Linked DNA regions of Homo sapiens: region 2 is linked to region 1. Evidence: promoter capture Hi-C in 16 types of primary human blood cells and fetal thymus (Javierre and others, 2016). All regions are on one chromosome and are shown on one strand. The core of a region is centred on a gene start or on the middle of the fragment in contact, and the rest is flanking DNA. Distances in the headings are between cores, read along the strand shown.

Region 1 (5,172 bases), core at 713-3,212:
AGGTTTTCTGACTGAGTGCTCTTTCCTCTCCCAGCAGGTGCTTAGAAAGGAGAAAACATACAGTCTGGACAGAGGAAGGAGTGGGATGGCTGGGCACAGTGGGGAACAATGTGGGCAAAGGTTTGGGAGGTGGAAAGTGGACGGACCTTTGCAGCCTTGAAGGAAGTGTGATCGAGCTAGGCTGACGGCACGGCAAAGCTTGGGTATTAAGGTGGAGTCCAGCCAGTTTCTGAGGTGCCTGAAGGCTGGGAGAGTTTTTCTTTCTTTTTTTTCTTTTCTTTTCTTTCTTTTTTTCTTTTTTGAAACAGAATCTCACTCTGTCACCCAGGCTGGAGGGTAGTGGCATGATCACCACTCACTGCAACCTCCACCTCCCAGGTCCAAGCAATTCTCCTGCCTCAGCCTCCTGAATAGCTGGGATTACAGGTGCACACCATCACACCAGCTACTTTTTGTATTTTTAATAGAGATGGGATTTTGCCATGTTGGCCAGGCTGGTCTTGAACTCCTGACCTCAAGTGATCCGGCTGCCTCGGCCTCCCAAAGTGCTGGGATTACAGGCATGAGCCACCACATCCAGCCTTTTCTTTTCTTTTCTTTTTTTCTTTTTTTTTTTTTTTTTTTTTTGAGACAGAGTCTTGGTCTGTTGCTCAGGCTGGAGTGCAATGGCAGGATCTTGGCTCTCTGCAACCCTTGCCTCCCAGGTTCAAGTGATTCTCCTGCCTCAGCCTCCTGAGTAGCTGGGATTACAGGTGCCCGCCACCATGCCCGGCTAATTTTTGTATTTTTAGTAGAGACAGGGTTTCACCATGTTGGCCAGGCTGGTCTTGAACTCCTGATCTTGTGATCCGTCCACCTCAGCCTCCCAAAGTGCTGGGATTACAGGTGTGAGCCACTGTGCCTAGCCTTTCTTTCTTTCTTTCTTTTAACAAGAAATTTGTTATAGTTTTATTTTCCTTTGCATTTGCAAAATACTTAGGACCAACATGAAAAAGAAATACCTTCTATGGGGAAAAAAATGGCATTAAAAAGGAAGATGGGAAGGCTGAAAGGGATTTGTGCCTTAGTTGCAAGGAGCTGCAGCATCTCTGGTCCAAGGAATCAAAAAGATATTGGGAAGATATAACAGGAGGAAGAAGAATGTGAATTTACTGAGGGAGAGGGCCCCAAAGTGGGCCTTGAGGGGGAACTGGAGGCCCCGGAGTGGGTCTGGGTGGAGGGAGAGTCCCCCCCGGAAGCCATAGGGTGGGTGTTGGGGAGGGCCAGTGTATCCATGAGGCAGCATCGGTGGAGGAGGTCCACACATACCATGGAGGCATAGGACGTGAGTGACCCATGGGAGATCCAGACCGAGACCCCTTGGGGGACATGCTCATTGGAGGAGGTCCAGGATGAGGCATTCCAGGTGGTGATCAGGGTGGTGGCTGCCCCCCAGATCCTGGGGTCCCATCACGGGTGTGTCCTCAGCCATGAGGGCCATGGTTTGCCAGCTGCATCTGAGACATCCCTGGATGGGACATCGCACCTATTGGGAACGGGTGAGGATGTGAGTGTCCATGACCCGGATGTCCTGCCCCTGGGGTTCCTACCAGTGGGAGCCGGGGGCATGTCCTGCAGCCCCAAGAGGCATAGGTGGTGGGGACATGGCTGGGGGTATCCCAGATGTGCGGGGGCTCCAGGAGGCAGCTCTAGGTGCGGGAAGGAGCCAAGAGGAGGCACGCCTGGTGGAGGAAGCCCAGACCCCAGTGATGCTGCCACAGGATTCGGGGCAGAGGGTGGAGGAGGTTCCCGGGGACCTGATGGCCAAGAGAATGTCGCTCATCTTGCACGTGCAAAAGTTGCCCTGGGACCACGTGCCTTGCCTGCGGAGGACCCGGCAAAACCTGTACCAGGACGTCGGTGGCCACGCCCACGGCTCAGGGCTGGGCGGGGCCAAGCGCGGGGCAGCACGCTCTGCTCTCCGACGTCCCCTCCCGCCCGCGACCTGCCGACCTGCGGGGATCGTTAGCGGTCCCAGCCCCCGTCTAGATTCAAATCCGACTGGGTGAAGGAGGACCCGAGGAGGACCCACGCACGTGAGGGCAGATCCATGAGGGCAGGAAACTGACCTCAGACTCTTTTGGTGGCAAGAGGAGGGAGGCTGTGAGCCCCCTTAAGTGGACAGGGGTGGGGGTGGAGTGGGAGGGGGGAGTCTGAGGGAGACGGACGAGGAGCGGAGAAATGGACCGAAGAGCTCCGGCGTGAGGGGCAGGGGTGCAGGAAGGTCTCCTGTGGATTGAGCGGCCTCAAGTCAACTTGGGCAAGAGGGGATGGTGGGGTGTTCTTGGTTAGGAGTCTGCGCTGTGGAGCCAGCCCTGGGGTGCTCCCTCTGAGGCCTTGGGTGGGACAGGCCCTTCTAAGCTCCTGTCCTCATTTCTAAAACAGGGAACCTAAGTCCCAGGGCTGCAGTGCAGATTAAATGGCAGGACGCCTGCTGAAGGCTGCAAGGTGCCTAGCACGGTTGTCATTTATTCAATGTGCATTTACAAGCCCCTGCTGGGGGTCAGGCATTGTTCTATGGGCTGCAAATCCAGCAGGGAAACAAACAAACAAAAAAAACCAGCCTGCCCTCGTGTGGCTCCTAGGCCACTGGAGGGAGAAATACACTAATTTCTTCACTATGTTAGGTGGCCGCAAGTGCAGGGCAAAGAGAGTGAGGAGAGGCCAGGTTGCTGCAGTTGGAGAGACAGTGGGCAGGGAGGGCTCACTGTGATGTGGGAGGCAAGACTTGAAGGCAGAGGGGACAGCAGCACAGAGGCGCTGAGGTGAGGTCGTGTGTGCCATTTGGAGGAGCAGCCAGGGGGCTGGTGTGTGTGGAGGACAGTGGGCAAGGGGAAGAGGAATTGGGGAGGACCATAACTGGCAGCCAGATTTTAAAGACTTTGCGGGGCTGGGTGTGGTGGCTCACGCCTGTAATCCCAGCACTTTGGGAGGCCGAGGCGGGCCAATCACCTGAGGTCAGGAGTTCGAGACCATCCTGGCCATCATGGTGAAACCCTGTCTCTACCAAAAAATAGAAAAATTAGTCTGGCGTGGTGGCATGTGCCTGTGGTTCCAGCTTGTTAGAGGCTGAGGTGGGAGGATCCCTTGAGCCCAGGGAGGCAGGCGGAGGTTGCAGTGAGCCGGGATCACGCCATTGTACCAGCCTGGGTGGCAAAGTGAGACTCCGGCTCAAAAAAAAAAAAAAAAAGGTTTTGCAGCCTAAGGTATCTTGCAGCTATTGAGCTCTGCTATTGCAGCTGGAAAGCAGACAGTCTGTAAACAAATGGGCTTTGTTTCAATATAACTTTATTCACATAATAGACCACTGGCCCAGGCAGTAATTTGCTAACCTCTGGCCTACAGCCTTGAAGGCTCACGGGGCATTGAGGGGGCTGGAGAGCTTCTGTGGCATTAGAGTTGAGGCAGGGCATGATTTGATTTCAGTGTTTACAGGATCACCCTGCCGCCGCATGAAGAGGAGGCTGTCGGGCGTGAGGACGAGGCAGAATAAGGGTGACCAGTTGGGAGGTGGCAGGTGAGGGCCACTCCGCCCAGTGCTCCAGGGGTCAGATCCTGGATGCGTGTGGGAGGCAGAGCCTGTCAGAGCAGCCACTGGTGTGAGGGAGAAGGGGAATCGGGGTGGCTCCAGGATTTTTGTTTGAGCCACCAGAAGGCCGGAGCTGCCATCCGTGGAAAAGGGGGGCACCAAGATGGGAGAGAGCTGGTTGCGAGGACGGCTGGAGTTCAGTTTTGGACATATTAATGCTGAGATGCCTGTTAGACATCCGGGTAGGCGTGGAGGAGGTCGCTGGACCTGCATGTTCAGACCTGTATGCAGATCAGCCGAGAGGTCTGGGGGGCAGGATGGGGCAGCATTTGACCTGGACACTTAATATGGAAAGGGGGGTGATAAGTAGGGCAGGGAGAGGAGCCACTGAGAGACCAGAACAGTGAGGGGCAGGCCCCAGGCAGCTGGGACCAGGCCAAGAGCAGCTAGGAGTACTGCTAAAGGGAGGAGGTAGGGATCAGAATGGGGTGGGGTTGAATGAGAGCCAGGGCAACCTGTCCTCTCCCCGCAGGGCCCATCTGATTAAACAGACCAGGCCACTCACTGTGGAGTGGACCAAGGATACTCCTGTCCCTGAGCCCATGGAGCTAAGGTCTGATGCCAGCCACAAGGAGAATGTGTCCCCAAAGCCTGCAGCGCTCCCGAAGCCAGGCAAGAGGCTTAGTGGGCCTGGATGGGCAGTTACAGGAGCAGGGCCCTCTCTAGGTATTGGCCCAGAGCCCCCCTCCCAGGCAGGCCAGCCTATAGGGCCTGGCTAATTCCAGAGATCAGCCACCCACGGTCGGCTGGACATAGGACAGAGTCTTCCCAGCCTGGGGCCTAAGGAGGGGGGTCTTGGGAGAGTGAGGTCAGGAAGAGGCCTGGCTGGTGCCCCTGGCTAAGATGGGGCCCCCACAGCTCGGTCCTGGGGACATCCCTTCTCAGGCTGCTGAGGCTTTAAGAAAGCCACAGAGGGCCGGGCGTGGTGGCTCACGCTTGTAATCCCAGAACTTTGAGAGGCCAAGGTGGGTGGATCACCTGTGGTCAAGAGTTCAAGACCAGCCTGGCCAATGTGGTGAAACTGCGTCTCTACAAAAATACAAAAATTAGCCAGGCATGATGGCGGGTGCCTGTAATCCCAGCTACTCGGGAGGCTGCAGCAGGAGAATCACTTGTACCCAGGAGGCGGAGGTTGTAGTGAGCCGAGATGGCACCACTGTGCTCTAGCCTGAGCCACAGAGCAAGACTCTGTCTCAAAAAAAAAAAAAAAAAAAAAAAAGAAAGCCACAGAGCTGGGCCAGCCAAGAAGGGGAGCAGCCCAAGAACAAATGTAGATTCTTGAATTCACATCCCAGTTTCTTCGTGTTCCAGCTGTGTGACCATGAGGCAAGTTGCTTGACCTCTCTGAGCTTTAGTTCCCATCCACAAAGGCAGTAACTTTTATGGCCCACTCTACCTGCCAGGCCCTGCGCCCAGAGCCTCCCGGTACCTCATCCATCCCCACAAGGACTCTGTGCCTGTGGAGTGGGCTTGGGGGCTGGGGAGGAGCTCCAAGGCCCCTCTCCATGTTCCCAGAGCAGCTTACCTTTAGCCGTGGCTCTATG
Region 2 (5,172 bases), core at 899-3,398, 70 kb before region 1:
CTCCAGCCTGGGTGAGAGCAAGACTCCCTCTCAAAAAGAAAAACAAAAGGCGGGGGGAGGGGAGAAGCATGAATAATCCACCCTTTGTTTAGCACATCATCAGGAAATAACCATAAAAATGGGCAACCAGCAACCCTTGGTGCTGTGCTGTCTATGGAGTAGTCATTCTTTTTATTCCTCTACTGTCTTAATAAACTTTTTACTCTATGGACTCGCCCTGAATTATTTCTTGTGCGAGATCCAAGAACCCTCTCCTGAGGTCTGGGTCAGGACCCCTTTCCTGTAACAACATGGTCCTATCCCAGCTCCCTGTCTGATGTCACCTCACTCTGTTCCAGACTGACTCTTCTCCACCAAACACACCAAGCACACTCCCGCTCCAGGACCTTTGCAGTGGCTCTTCTGCTTGCAAGTCTTCTCCCCACAACCACGTGGCTCATTACCTCCTTTTCTTTGCCAAAAGAACTGCCCCAGCAAAGAGGCCTTTCCTAATAACTTTATGTAAAACAACACCTCGTCCCTTCATGCTTTGTCTGTAATGTGCTTTACTTTTCTTCATAGCACTAATCACCACCTGACATCATTTATATTTATTTGTTCACTTATCTTCTGTCTCCTTCACTAGAATCTGAGCTCCATGGGGGCAGGGATTCTTGTCCATGTTGTTTACTACTGTACCTCCGGTGCCGGCACATAGTAGGTGTTCAATAGGTATTTATGGGATGGATGACTCAAACCTTTCAGTGAATAAACAGTTCAGTGTTCTCATCAATCCATCCTGGTGCCCACCAAGCTAATAATATCACGGTAACAATGGCAGCTAATTTTACAGGAGCATTTCCTATGGGCCAGACCTTAGAAACGTTATCTCCTTACACAGGGCACTGCATTCACGCCTAGAACACTGAAATTTAGGTATAATCATGAGCTCAGAGGTCAGGCGACTTGCTCGAGGTCATAGGGGACGGCATCAGAAGAGGAACACAGACATTTAGCCTGACGGCAGAACTGTGTTCTAAAACCTCAAAGTCATAATTTGCCACACGCTGGAGAAAGAAAACAGTCGAAATGGAAGCCACCTGGCGAGCTCAGGGCGCCAGGTGGGAGCGCTGCTTCCCACATATGGGAGTCCGGCCCCATCGCTCTTTGATCTTTGCAGCGTCCGTGGCCCCACCGACCCCGTCGTGAGTTATGGGAGGCACGGGACCCATAACCCAGCATTCTCAGACTCCCAGGGTCGTCAGGACACGGCGCCCCGCGCGGTGATGGATGAGCCGGCCCCAGCGCTGGCTTTGTCCGGGTTGGGCCGGTCTGAGAAGCTTCAGGCCGGCTTTGGACGGGGCGTGGCGAGAGCCGCGCCGCGTGTGAGTGTGTGTGTGTGTGTGTTTGTGTGTGTGTGTATTGGGGCGGTTGTCTTTCTCCCTTCCCTACCGGGAAAGAGGGCACAGGTGCGCCGTCAGCGCCCCAGGTGAGCTGGTAGCACTTTGAAGACCCTTTGTACCCCTACATCCAGGAGCGACCTCTCGGAGAACCCCGCCTGCCCACTCTGCGCACTTTCTGCGGCTACAAAGGCCCCGCCGTTCCCCGTCCCGCCTCCCCCGCCCTGGGCATTTCTTCCGTCCCTTTTGACAGTCTAGGCGGAATAATCCTTTTGTGGCCCCGGGCCCCTGCCCTGACAGACGCGGCCGCAGCTGAGCGCGCAGCCTCGCTCCATTGTTGGGGTCCACCGAGGACCGCCCGCCGCGGCCCTTTGTCGCCCGCCCTGCGCGGGGCCGCTCCAGAGGCGCCACAACTGCCGGAGCCCCTCCCGTCCCACGCGCCCTGGGCCGCGCCGAGGCGGCTCTTACGCACCGGGAGGAGTGGGCCTGCCTCGCCCGGTGCCCGCACGGCTGCTGGGCTGCGCCCGCCTTTGTCTGCCTCCTTTGTCTGCCCCGCGCCCTCGCGGCGGCGGCGCCTAGGCCTCTGGGGAGCTGGCCCAGAACTCAGAGCGCAGCTGGCGAGGGCGCGCTGGCCGGGTGCGCGCCGGGCCCGGCCCCGGGGCTGCCCCTCGGCTGGGGGCAGTCGAGCCCGCCACCCGCCGCCCCTCCTCTGTCCCCTCCCCGCGCTCCCGCCCCCTTCCCTCCTGCCCGCCCACTCCCCCTTCCTTCCAGTCCCGCTCAGCCCGGGCACATCCTCCGGCTGCCCGCGCACCTCTCCACGCCGGCCCCGTTCCGCGGCTCGCCCTCGGCTGCGCTCGGCTCCCGCGGGCGCTCGGCCCCGAGCCCCTCCTCCCCCTACCCGCCGGCCGGACAGGTAAGGCACGGCCTCGGCCCGCCCCTGGCTCCGCCCCTCCCGCCCCACCTGGCTGCGAGCCCGGACAAAGGTGGGCTACCTGGCGCGCCCAGGGGCGGGGTGCGCGGGGTCCCGAGGCTGGAAGTGAGGATGCTGCCTCCTTCCCAGCCCTCGGACCCGTCTATCCGCCAGTCCTTCCGCCGCCTCCTCTCCTCGCCGCGTCTGCCCACGGACCCTGGCTCTGCTCCCGGGCTCCCCATCCGTCCACCTACCGCTGGACGCCCACTTTTCCACGCTCTGACACTCGGCCTCGCGCGCGCCCTCGCCGCCCTCTGGGGTCCCGGCTCGCACCTACTCTCCTCGGCACTAGCCTTCTCTCTCCCTGACCCAGTCTCCCTTTGTCTCTCTGTCTCTGAGTCTCCGGGTGGTCTCTCAGGCAGGGGGCCCCAGTCCGCCACCGTTGGAAGAAGTCTTCGAAGACTCCCTGAGCCCCGGGCAGAGCTGGCGGGCGTGCCCTCCAGCCCCTTTCGAGGCCGCCCAGGAGGCTGGGGTGTGTGGCCGGGGTCGCTGAGTGCGCCCGGAACCAGCACCGCCGGTGGCCCCGCGCCGTCCCATCTGTGCCCAGGAAGGTACTCAGCCTGGCTCCCCCGACGGCGCTGGTCTTTCGCCTGTGGTCTCCCGCTCTGTCCCTCCTGCTCCCCACCGCCGGCTTTTGGCTTTTCTCCGTCCGCTCGTCAAGGGTCTCAGCCGCCTTCGGGGCCGGGGTATGAGATGAGAGAGGGCTGGGGTTTCCCGCCAAGTCTTTCTTGCTTTCCTCAGCTGGGTGCTCCCTGGGCCATCCTCTCCGCCCGGTGGTCTCCCCTGCCCTATATGCTCCCTCCACGCTGCCCACCTCCCAGCCCAGTGACACACTGGTGTCTGGAACCGGTTCAGTACTATGCATCTGGAGTCGGGTACACTGGGGCTCTGGGAGTGATCTCGGACAAAGGAATGCACCTCTCTGAGCCTCAGTGTTCCTGTCACAAAACAGGGATGGTGCTAGTCCCTACCTATAGGGATGTGTGTGGAAATTGTGGGGTGCCGCTTGGTGCTGGTTCACACACCCTGTGGAGGAAGGGAGGGGAGGGGAGGGGAGTCTACAGACCTGGGATGGGGTGGGGACAGGGGGCTCCACAGAAATGGATCTCAAAGTCAAGGCTTAGAGACACTTCAGAGTAACCCCACCACCACAGCCTCTTCCCCCATCACACTTCCTGTCACCTTCACCTCCTCGTGCCCATACAGGCGTCCACACCCTTGCAAGCACTCTTCTCTTTCTCTCTCTCCTCCTCTTTGCTTGTCCTAAAATCAGCTAAAACAATCAGGGCCAATGGGTCACTTTTTTTCAAAATGAGATCAGTGTGGCTGAGCTGGTGTTGCCAACAACTGATCACCCATCAGAAGGCGTCCGGTGACTCACCCCCAATTCTGAACCTCAGTCTTGGCTTGATGCCTTTAATAGCGGCACCAGCTCACAGGCCACTTCCTTTCCTCTGAGGGGATTGTCTTGCTGGCTCCTGGACCTGCTGTGTGCTTGCCCAAGCCCCCTGACCACTGTCTAGGTGGTCATAACATGTGACACACCACTCCAGGAGTCTGGCAGTGACGTGGCCTGAGTGTCTTAATGAGGGCAACTTCAGAAGAGGGAAACCTCCCAGCTGGCAGGTTCCAGGCTCCCCTGGCTGAGTTCTTATTTCAGCCACAGCCAGGGCTGGCAACTGGAACCTTTCTCTTTAGAGGCAAGAACGGCTGGATATCCCCACGACATCCCCCATCCAGGCTCCTGCTCGAAATCCGACCTGGCAGACAGGCCCTACTTTGGTGAACCCGGCCCTTCATACCATCTCTACCCCCTGCCTTCTGCAGCAAAGCCAGCTCAGAGGCTTGGGAACCTTGCTCAGGTCCTCTCTGCTCTCTCCGCTGCCTTCCTCCCCACTATTCAATTCATCGCCCTCCCAGTCCATAGTCCTCAGTGGCTCACTGTGGCCACTCAGTTAACTACAGAGACCTCAGCCCAGCCTAGCCCTGTCCTGCCTGCCTCCCAGCATTGTCCCCTCTGCGTCCCAGGTTGCAGCCACGATGGAGAACTGACCATCTCCACAGTCTGCCCTCCTCTGAGCTTTTGCTAGGGCTCTTTCTGCCCTGCCCTGTGTTTGATCTCAGCCCTCTGTCTTTGCTGACCAAGGAGGTCTGATGTCCTCTCCTGTGGGAAGCACCCCGGCACTCCCTTGCCTCCCTAGCTCTTGTGAACTGCACGGCATAATCCCTATCTGGGAGGGGTCTGCTCCTCCCTGGGTGGGGGCTGGGTCTCCTTCTGCTTGTGGTCCCAGTGCCTGGCACGCAGTAGGGGCTCTGTGCACACCTGTTATATTGAATGTGATTCCTGGTCAAAGGCACAGGAATGAACTGAAAACTGCAAGCCCCAGTGTCTTGCTGAGTTCTGCTGGGTCCTGCTGGTGGGGCCAGGGCGGAGCTGGCCCTCTGGCTGGGGAGGTTGGAGGGGGAGCAAGCTGCCCGGAAACCCCTGTGATACTGAGGCCCTGTATCACTCTGGAAAATGAGGGTGGTCTCTGTGCCTGTTATAGGGGTAGAAACTGAGACCAGAGAACGAAGTGGCTCACCCCAGCCGTGCAGATTGGGTTTGAAGCCCAGCTGATCACTTAGCAGCTGTGGGACCCAGAGGGAGTTCCTTCACGTGTGTCGGCCAGGAATGTGATGGAGCAGGGACTTGCATCCCAGCCTCCCCGAACTTCCCTCAGAGGCATGAGCATGTTCCTGGGGGGCAGGTCATAGGAGCACCCCTGTTCTGGCCCAGTGGGTTGGAGCTGCCTCCCTCTTGCTCCGCTGGCCCTCTCTGCATGC

Evidence for each region. Contacts are between HindIII fragments. The CHiCAGO score rates a contact against its expected background, and 5 or more counts as called.
Region 2: a contact is called between the fragment with the promoter of DRAXIN here and the fragment with the promoter of C1orf167 in region 1, in 1 of 17 cell types (neutrophils). The highest score is 7.9, in neutrophils.

Annotation. Positions count from the first base shown.
Region 1 is chr1:11,760,231-11,765,402 of GRCh38, forward strand. It overlaps C1orf167 (chromosome 1 open reading frame 167), which reads left to right and starts at 1,963. Exons shown (of 21, transcript NM_001010881.2): 1 at 1,963-2,075; 2 at 4,101-4,240. The coding sequence starts at 4,171. It also overlaps the pseudogene LOC101060126. The HindIII fragment of the contact is 5,648 bases long and covers 197-5,172 here.
Region 2 is chr1:11,689,562-11,694,733 of GRCh38, forward strand. It overlaps DRAXIN (dorsal inhibitory axon guidance protein), which reads left to right and starts at 2,149. Exons shown (of 7, transcript NM_198545.4): 1 at 2,149-2,292. It also overlaps a transcript of MAD2L2 not described here. RefSeq lists enhancers at 447-956, 957-1,464. The HindIII fragment of the contact is 12,625 bases long and covers 1,318-5,172 here.